2 separate regions of the Homo sapiens genome follow, and region 1 is linked to region 2. Evidence: promoter capture Hi-C in human tissues and cell types (Jung and others, 2019). All regions are on one chromosome and are shown on one strand. The core of a region is centred on a gene start or on the middle of the fragment in contact, and the rest is flanking DNA. Distances in the headings are between cores, read along the strand shown.

Region 1 (4,889 bases), core at 715-3,214, 1.0 Mb after region 2:
GCAACCACATATTATGTATACTACACAAGAGATAAAATAAATATCATTAGCCTGTTTGTTCACAGACCTGATATTACCTCCACTCTTATACTAGGTTTTATGTATGGCAAATAGCTTATTTAGATGAGCAACTTTTAAGTTAGCTCTACAAAAGATCCCTTAATAAATAAGAAATAATCTCTAATTTAAAACTTTTTTTTCTGGTAACAAGTTCAGGGTTCAATGAATTTTAAAAAACAAACAAACAACAAAACAAAACAAAACAACCCATATCTATCCAGCTATTCATCTATTTATTTATTTTTATTGCCTGGAAAAGTGGTCCTGCAAGTCGACCTGCCAAGGTCATATTTTTTTTCCCTTGGAACTGTAGAAAAGCTTGTGATGGCATCTTCAGTACAGATTCCGTGACTCTGAGCAACACAAGCAGCATCTGTTCCCTTAAAATAAAAAGACTGATTAATGTTTCCTTCTTGCATATGTTTGCATTTGGTTAATAGTTAACTTTCAAATACATACTTCTTATAAAAATTCAAATATTAAACATCTTTGAAAGACAATTTCAAATGTTTAGAGTTCCTTAAATATTAAAAATTAAAATTACATTTTATGTATCTACATCAATCATTTAAAATCATTTATCGGCCACAATATCCTCTCATCAAATAAAAACCTATTCAAAAGCTGAGGAACTGGAAGTGATAATGTGGAGAATGCTCCCGTCTCCGCAACCACAAATTAAGTAGTGACCTTAAGGAGCTATCTGAAGAACACTCATCTACACAATATAGTTCTACCCAGATGGAATCCAATCAAATCCATCTTTATAATATGGAGAATAACTATATCAAATCAATCAAATCCATCTTTATAATATGTTGAGTAACTACATATTGAGAATCATACCAATCTCAATTTCAGAAATTATATGACATCTTAATTAATAGATCACAAAGAAGCCTGGGCAACACAGCAAGCCTTGTCTCTCAAAAAAAAAAAAAAATTAGCTGGGTGTGGTGGCACATGCCTATAGTCTCAGCTACTCAGGAGGCTGAGGTGGGCGAATCACTTAAGCCTAGGAGTTTGAGTCTGCAGTGAGCTTGATAATTAATCAAGGGCCATTACTCTATTGTTTCTTTCCACTCTTTTCATTATGCAGTTTTTTAATCTTTTTTTGTCTGTACTGCAAGTTAAACCAATTCTATTATTATCCTTACCTTGCCTCCTTCTCTTAGATGCTTATTATTAAAACCATAAAACTACCTTATTTACACTGATACTTCAAAACTTGATTCAACCACATATGAAAAAGAGGCTAAAGGGACTTTCAGTTGGGTGTATCAGCCCAATTCTCTATCACAGCCTCCTCCCCTCTGGTTATTTTGCAAGTCCATTCCAGGCATAGCGATACGTGGAACAGTCACTGTGAGAAATGTGGCAGGGGCGGCAACAGATCCTAGATCTAGATGTCATGGTTCTTCTGAGAAGTCAGAGTAGAATCAAACAGAAAACTATCACTACATTAAAAATATCCTGGACGTATTAGCAAACAAATGCATGCATTTATTCACGGAATAAAAATCAAAGGTGCCACATTTGTAACCTTATGCTTCTAGCTTAGCTACATGAAATAAAAAGCTATTTGAAATCAACTACAAATGCAATAAAGCATAGATTTTCCAAATAAATCTTATTTGCTGTCAAACCATAACTCACTCATAAATCATACAATATTTTCACTTTGTAATACAATAAAAATGATTTTAATTAATAAAGTTTTATAAATTCTGGCCAGGTGTGGTGGCTCACACCTGTAATCCCAGTACTTTGGGAGGTGGTCAAGGCAGGTGGATCGCTTCAGCCCAGGAGCTCAAGAACAGCCTGGGCAACAAGGCGAAACATCTCTCTCTATATAAAAATTCAATGTAAAATATATGAAAAACCTCCCAAAATGCTATTACTTCAAGGGAAGTTTAAAAATTAAGAAAAAAATTCTAAAATTGTTTTCTACATAGCAAGTCAGTCACTATAATCTGGCTCATCAATGATTCAAAGTATACAGAAAGAAAAAAAAGGACTAACAAGATAATTGTCCAATGTAGTTATTGGCTAATAATAACTTGGGCTCTGAAGTCAGAAAAACCGTAGTTCAAATCTCTGTCCACTGCTTAACAGCTGTGTGAACAAGGACAAGTTACTTAACTTCCCAGTATTATCTGTATCATAGGGTGCTGTAAGAATTAAGTAAGAAAATATGTGTAAAGTGCTTAGAAAGCTATGTGGCACAAATAAGTGTCCCAAATGTGTTAATAATAATAACTACATCTATATGCCATTCTATTAATACTGTTAGTAAAGAATCTTTTCAAAATATAAAGCCATTTTATACATAAATTAGGCATATGCTTTGACTAAGTAGTCTTCTTTCTTAAAAAAAATTAGGAGTACTTAGTCAAAGCATATACCTAATTTATGTTTTGCCACATGTAGAGGAAAATAAAATACATATAAGAATGTTCATTGTCCTCTCTTTGCCTCAAAACAGAGAGAAATAACTACATGTCCATCAGTACAGGACTGGTTAAGAAAATTATGGCATATATATATATATATATATATATATATATATATATAGTATAATACTATATAACTGTGTGTGTGGTTTGATGAGCTAGATATTCACCAAAGGACAAACATCACTACTATCTCTAGAGAGTGAACCTTTGAGCTTTTTTCTTTTTTAAACTTTTCTTTGTTTGAATTTTATGATAAACATTTCATTTTTACAAAAACTGCAGAACCACTTTCCCATCTCCCCAAAAGGTCTATTTTTCCAATCAATTAGACAACTATTTATAGAGCACCAATGATATATAATGTACTATACTAAGAAATGTAGGAAATATAAAAATAAGAAAACCAGTAAATACCTTCTAGGGGTTCTCAGTTCTATGGTGGTAAACAGATATTTACACAAGTATTTTAGGGATCAAGACAGTTTTCACAAGAACTATACAGAAGTACAAATATAGAATGGAAACAAGTGAAGAAAAAATTTAAGTAAGGATATGTAGAAACAGGAAGGTGAATCTAAGGGACAGTTACGGTGACAACAGGAAAAACAGCAGAATTAGACATTCTAAAGGAAAGTTCAGAAGGTGCCCAGGGAAGAACAACTTGATAAAGCTGGGAAGCAGGATCTTATCCTGAAAGCTGGAGGTTAGACTTCAGACAGGAAAAGTAGGCAGGGCCTGACGGTATACAGCTCTGAATGCCAGATTAAGGATTCAGGCATTCACATATTCAGTCAATCATCAACTTATTCATTAACTCATTCACACACAAGTAAACTTCATTTACTCATATACATTTGTATGCATGTATTCTTTCCTTAGGGGTTGAGGAGGATGAGGCCATTATATGCTCACTTCAGGAAGACAGTCCAAGGGGTCTTGCGGAAGTCCGAACAAAGTTTCAGATAAGCTGAAAGGAACTATTGCCACTATGATTAATTTTATATTTATTCAATAATAGGAGCCTCTATAATACTGTAAACAAACCCTCTTCACAGACACTATTTCTCTAAAAATTACTATACCTGTGTACACAATAAAAACACATAGACATAAAGGATAAAAATTTTTTTACCAAGTCTTTTTGTCCATTGATACTTGTACAACCATGTACCGATAAATGTTAAGAATGCGTTTACACATATCTGTGTGTTCATCCAGAAGATTTTTTATTTCATTTGCAGGTTCAAGAAGAAATATATTTGATGAGTTTATAATAAACACCTAAGACAAAAGAAATCATTAGCTATTCACAAAGGAATTTCAATGGCAAATTTCTTATTCAAAGAGAAACAGACACTGATCACACTGTGGGTAAATTCTACAAGCTTAATAACTGAAACATAAACTCATTAAACCTACCTATTTTTATGTTTACCTAGACAAATATAAAGTTAATAGTAGGTACCCAAAGAAAATAAACCAAGTGCAAACAACAGTATTTCTTTCTTTTTTTTTTTTTTCGAGACAGAGTCTTGTTTAGTCACCCAGGCTGGAATGCAGCGGTATGATTTCGGCTCACTGCAACCTCTGCCTCCTAGGTTCAACAGATTCTCTTGCCTCAGCCTCCCAAGTAGCTGGGATTACAGGCATGTGTGCCACCATGCCAGGCTAATTTTTGTATTTTTACTAGAGGTAGGGTTTCACTATACTGGCCAGGCTGGTCTCAAACTCCTGGCCTCAAGTGATCTGCCCACCTTGGCTTCCCAAATTGCTGCGATTACAGGTGTGAGCCACTGCACCTGGCCTAAAACACAGTACTTCTAAACTGAGAAGCTTTAATAACTCTATTGCTATAATAAATTGAAAAAAAAATAAATACACATAGTTTAGAATAAAAGATGACACCTAAATCAGGAAGAATTTTCTGAATGAGTTGTTCAAAACATTTTATCCTCTTTTTCTTATTTATTTTTATGTTTGTATATCTGTTTTGGTGACAGAAGATTCCATTAGAAAAATTACTATATCCCATCAAAATATTAAAATGGAAAAAACTGATTATCACTATGTATGCAGAAAAAGCATTCAACACTTATGACTGAAAACAATTTTTAGCAAACTAAGAAAAAAGCACACATTCATTGAAATAAAAAAGAGCATTTATAAAAAAGTATAAAAAAAAGTATATACATAGTAATAGAACTTGAGAAATACCACAAAAAGCCAAGAATAAGACAAGGGTGCTCACTCTCATCCCATGGATCTGAGGGGCCCAGTAAGCATAAAAGGAAGAGTGGGTGGTAGAGAATAAGTATCAGCAAACTGAAAAGGAAAAGACAAATGGAGCTACGTTCCTGTCTAGGAGAATAGTAT
Region 2 (5,257 bases), core at 404-2,903:
ATCATCCAAGCCATTTACTTGCCACTCATGTTTAATACCTAAAAAGAAAAAACATTATCCTATTACTTTATTATAATTAATAAAGAATAATTTCTCTGCCCCAAATATTCAAGTTTGTACCTGTAAATTTCTTTTTAATGGCATCTTTAGAGCTAGCATAAATCATCTTGCTTTTTAAAGGTGCACTTTCAGGAGCCCTACAGAAAAAAAAAAAATTATTGAATCCCATTTATAAGAAAAACAAAGGTAAGACTGACTATGATAATAATAATCCTTGCATTTTAAAAGTACTTTTTTCTTTTGTTTTTACACACCAGAATATAAATACTAGGTCTTCTTTCTTAGACTCTTTTGTTTCGTATGTGGCATCGTACAAAGCATATCGGCAATCATTCAGAGGTAGCAACTTCACAAAAGATGTGTAGGGGTCCTCTACAGTATCACCAATGTCACCCACCAAGATCTGCTTTGCTTCCTCTACAATTATTTGTCTTTTGTCATCGCTTAAACAGAAGAGAACTGCTTTCTTTCTCTTTTTGATCTCCTCTTGTGTAGAAGATTTCCTTACTTTCATATCATTAAAAACTTTGATGACTTCATCATTCACTGTAACTCCAGAAGCCTGAAAATAAACACAGAACAGTAATTCAGAACACGTATTTTGGTTTTAACCAAAATTACTGTTTGCCTAGAGAAGACTCACTTTAGTCTGGACATCAAAAATTGCACCGTACCATGTAAGTCGTCCAATCAGATTTGTCACATTTTAAGAATCAGTAGACGATACAGCGAAGGAGTCTAACTCATCCTGCCCATTCATCCTTCTTAAAGGGGTTTGGACGTGGAAGCGAAAGGGACAAATACAAGTTGTCCCATCCCTGAAATGTTTCCTATTTCACTGGGTGATGTCAGAGCTTCAGGAGTGGCAGCAAAAATACCTTCTGTATTGTGTCAACTCGGCTGGCCTTAAAAAAACACTTTTGGATTTCAGTTAATGCTTCTACTATTTTTTTCTTTAAAGTCATCCTAGCCACTGACGTTTCCTCATAAGGAAAGAGAATCAAGTGTAAACTCCAAACCGCCCACGGCCCACACACAGCTCACATGCAGACACTCCAAAACTAACTGATCGAGTGTAAAAGCTTTTACGGCGAGAAAGCATTTTAAAAAGTGTTTTCCCTCTTCCTTAATCTCCCCGTAAGGGTTTTATTACAGGCCGTCCAGACCCTGACCCACACAGCGTTCGCAGCACGTACCAATTTTAAAGCCTCGCGTGTTAAGTAAAATTAGGAAGCGAAGGGCAAAGGCGGCGCGAGCGGCTGCAGTCCGCAGACCCTCTCGCGCCCCCGCCCGCCCGGCCCCGACCCCCAACCTGCGCCGACGCCCGGGCCCTCCCCGCCCCCCAAAATCCAAAGAGCAGCAGGGCAGGGCCTGACGGCCGGAGGGCAGGCCGGTCGGCTGGAGAGCAGCGGAGCCGCAGAGCAGAAGCGCCCACCTTGGAGGCCAAAATCAGGTTAAAATGGCGGCCTCACTCCCGGGGCCGTGCGGGGGGCTTTTCTCGCCTCGCCGCGGCCTCCCGGCCAGCGCGCTCGTCTTACCATAGTGCCCTCGGCTGTGGCTGCGGCGGCAGCTCGGGCTTCGGCTCTGTGGCACTGGGAGGAGAAGGAGGGGCGGGCGAGCGGGTGGGCAGCGGAGAGTGCGGGGCACGCCGGGAGCTGCAGCCCGAGGGAGGTGGCGGGGCTCGGCGGGCCGCAGGCAGCGGGCGGGGCGGTCACGTGGGCACGCCTGGTCCCCAGCCGGCGCCACCCGCTCCCAGGCCGGCCCTTCTGTCTCGCGGCCCCGGCTCCCCGGCTGTCCGCGTCCTCGGCCTGACCTCAGAGCGCGAGCCCTGCAGGCCGGGGGGGGCGACGCGGTGGTAGCGGAGCCCGGGAGCCTGGCAGAGCCGCCTCCAGCCCCCGAGCATCACCCGTCAAGCCGGTGGGAGAGAGTGCTGGGCTCCCAGAGGGGCGTTTCCACCGCCTCCGTAGGGCCCTGCGCCAGGGGTGGGTGCGTGTGAGGGGAACTCCTGCGAAGGTGTCTTTCCTTATTTACCTGTGGTTTTCCCGAAAGAGGCTGGATTTCGACATTTTGAGTCTTTTTGGAAAACCCCCAGTTGTTTAGAGATAAATGAGAATAAATACTACACGAGATTGCTCCAGTTGATAGTACTTAGCAAAAACAAAATGATACGCAGTGTTGGTAAATCACTTTTCAAAACTCTGGTTGAAATAATAATTATGATTAAAAAATTACGTGGTAGCATTCCTTAGTAATATCCTTTTACATTTTAGACTTCATAGGAAATGGATTGTACTCTCTCTTAGAGATTTCATGAAGCTCCAGCTATGACAGCTGATATCAAATAAGCCGACGCAGCCTCTTCTAGCAAAGCCCATATAACTGCGCCAAGGCAGTTTCTCTTTTTTTAATCTTAACTCCTCCATACCTCAGGGTTCTTCATGTGTAAAACAAACTGTTATTAAATTATCGTTAAGGCCCTTTCCAGCTTTAGATTTCAGTTTCTGAGTATATCAATGTTCAGTAGGAAATGGTGTGTTTTTGGTGGTCTCAGGATTGAGGTTAGGCAGGAAAGTCATGAGATGGTGTTTGCCCTAGATTGCGTGATAAGTTCTTTCAGCCCAAATTTACTGTATTTTAAATGGAACATGCTAGGCATTGAAACAGACCTATTTTTCTGTCTATATCTTGGGTTTGTTTTCTTAATTGGAAGATAGACTTCGTTTAGAGACAAAAATTGAGAAGGGATTTCCCAATGTCTAAGCATGAATCCCAAGCAAGTGGATAATACTTTATATCTAGCTGGTACATTACAATTTATGGAACCTTTCACTTTATCTGTTGAACTTCCAAGAAGTCATGGAGAATGTCTCTCCAGAGCTCTGATCATCTGCTATGTGTAGGTATTAGCAAATTCCTGTTCGCTTCATCTTGCGGTTACCTTCCCTTCCCAACCTCAGAGATTTGCAGCAGCCCCAGCAGAGACCAGGTCTGATGACACTGGGGCCTAAAGTGGGTGTCAGAACCTTACCCACCAAAGCTGGGGATTCCAAAGATGCTAGTCACCCCCTAGCTCGGACTCCAACCCCTTTCCATGCCTCCCATTCTCTCTTACCCTCCCCAAACAGAGATGGTAATTCACATGTTCTAAGATTCTTTTCCTGAAGTTATTTTTGTCTTGCATATATTTTGTTACATTATAATAACTTGTTTATGTCTTCTGCCACCCTACTGCGCTGTAAGCTCCTTAAGGATCTGAGTCCTGGTTATCTTTGAATTTCTGGAACCTGACAGATAGTAGGTGCTTAATAGGTGCTGAAATAATACATTTAAGATGCTTTAGTGCTGTAAAGAGAATGAAAAGGAAGCTTCTGAAAATTGTGAAGCCTTTCTACATGCCCTTGTGAGCATGGCACTGAGAATGTCAGGGCCAGTAGCAGCTTCCTGCCTTCACCTCTGTGAGTTATAACCAGAACTTACCACCACTTGGTAAAGGGGCAGCATTGCCAATCATTGCTGCATGAATTTTGGTCACTGTGTAGTGGAGGGGGATCTGAGTGTCAGATACCACATGTATTAGCGTTCGACTGTTGCTATAACAAATTACCATAAAATTACTTGTTTAAAACAACACAAATTTATTATTTATGGTCTTACAGAGTCAGAGAAACAAGTCTCTCTCTCTATATATATATATTTAAGAGATAGTCTCTGGTTCTGTTGCCCACCCAGGTTGCTGGAGTGCAGGATGTGATCATAGCTCACTGCAGCCTCATACTCCTGGCCTCAAGTGAGCCTCCTGCCTCAGCCTCCCGAGTAGTTGGGATTACAGGCATGAACCACCACAACTAGCAGAAATAAGCCTGATGGGGCTAAAGTCAAGAGACTGTAGTGGGAGACTCCTTTGCCTTTTCCAACATCTAGAGGCTGCCCATCATTTTTTTTTTTTTTTTTTGAGATGGAGTCTCACTCTGTCACCCAGGCTGGAGTGCAGTGGTGCTATCTCGGCTCACTGCAAACTCCGCCTCCTGGGTTCACACCATTCTCCTGCCTTAGCCTCCTGAGTAGCTGGGACTACAGGCACCCGCCACCATGCCCGGCTAATTTTTTGTATTTTTAGTAGAGATGGGGTTTCACCGTGTTAGCGAGGATGGTCTTGATCTCCTGACCTTGTGATCCGCCCACCTTGGCCTCCCAAAGTGCTGGGATTACAGGTGCGAGCCACCACACTCGACCTGCCCATCATCTTTGGCCTGTGGCCCCAGGCAGCAGTCGCATCACTCTGACCTCTGCCTCAGTCATCACATTTCCTCTGACTCTCTCTCTCCTGCCTCCGTCTTCCACTTATAAGGACCATTATGGTTACTTTGGACCCCACTTGGTAGTTTAGGATAATTCCCCCTCTCAAGATCCTTAACTTAATCACATCTGCAAAGTCTGTTTTTTCGTACAAGTTAACATTCAAAGACTTTGGAGGTTAGGACAGGAACACCTTTGTGAGGAGGGGTTGCATTATTCTGCCTACCATACAACTGTTCTGAGCAATTTCAAGCTCAAGCAAACAATTAATAGGTGTGACAGAGGGACCCCGAACAATGTGGTACTAGATACTTTTGTGCTGTAAACATCTAAGCTATAATTATCCATTTACTAGACCACACATAGATGGCAGTGACAACTATTAGGAACTTAGTGAGAGTAACCTCTGAATGTAATCTCAGCTCAGACACTAGTAGCGGTGCAATTTCAGGCCATTGATTTAGCTGCCATAAGGCTCAGTTTCCAAATCATGTGTAAAATAGGGATTATATGACCTCTTCCCTCTCAGGATTATGGGGAGGATCAAGAGAGATAATGTATGTAAAGCCCTTGTCCAGCACAGAAATAGGAACCCTGGAGCTGTTATTACCACCAGCAGAGTGAAGATGAAGGCACTGATTTTATCAACTCATAGGCAATAGCGTGAAGCCGTCCCAATCCTCATTGATTCTGAAGACTCAGCTAAAGTTTGTTTACTCAGGATTCTTTAAAAAATTGGAAAGGTGATCATCCCTTAATATATATAATCTATTCCCCCAAGAAACAATCTATTATGTATATATTTACTTACTCACTTACAGAGATGGGGGTCTTACTATGTTGCCCAGGCTGGTCTCAACTTCTGGGCTCAAGCAGTCCTCCCGCCTTGGCCTCCTAAAGT

The links. The method cuts DNA at HindIII sites, captures the fragments that hold promoters and counts their contacts. A contact is called where the count stands out against the background at its distance.
Region 1: a contact is called between a fragment that was not itself captured here and the fragment with the promoter of CFL2 in region 2, in 2 of the 25 tissues and cell types used here (dorsolateral prefrontal cortex and lymphoblastoid cells).

Annotation. Positions count from the first base shown.
Region 1 is chr14:35,724,714-35,729,602 of GRCh38, forward strand. RALGAPA1 (Ral GTPase activating protein catalytic subunit alpha 1) reads right to left here. Exons shown (of 42, transcript NM_001346249.2): 13 at 3,649-3,797; 14 at 311-440. Among named protein-coding and RNA genes, the nearest start is that of SNORA101B, 36 kb to the right of the region's middle. The HindIII fragment of the contact is 4,321 bases long and covers 1-4,125 here.
Region 2 is chr14:34,712,940-34,718,196 of GRCh38, forward strand. It overlaps CFL2 (cofilin 2), which reads right to left and starts at 1,654. Exons shown (of 4, transcript NM_138638.5): 1 at 1,599-1,654; 2 at 315-622; 3 at 121-197; 4 at 1-38. The coding sequence starts at 1,601. RefSeq lists silencers at 1,351-1,410, 1,501-2,090. The HindIII fragment of the contact is 13,048 bases long and covers 1-5,257 here.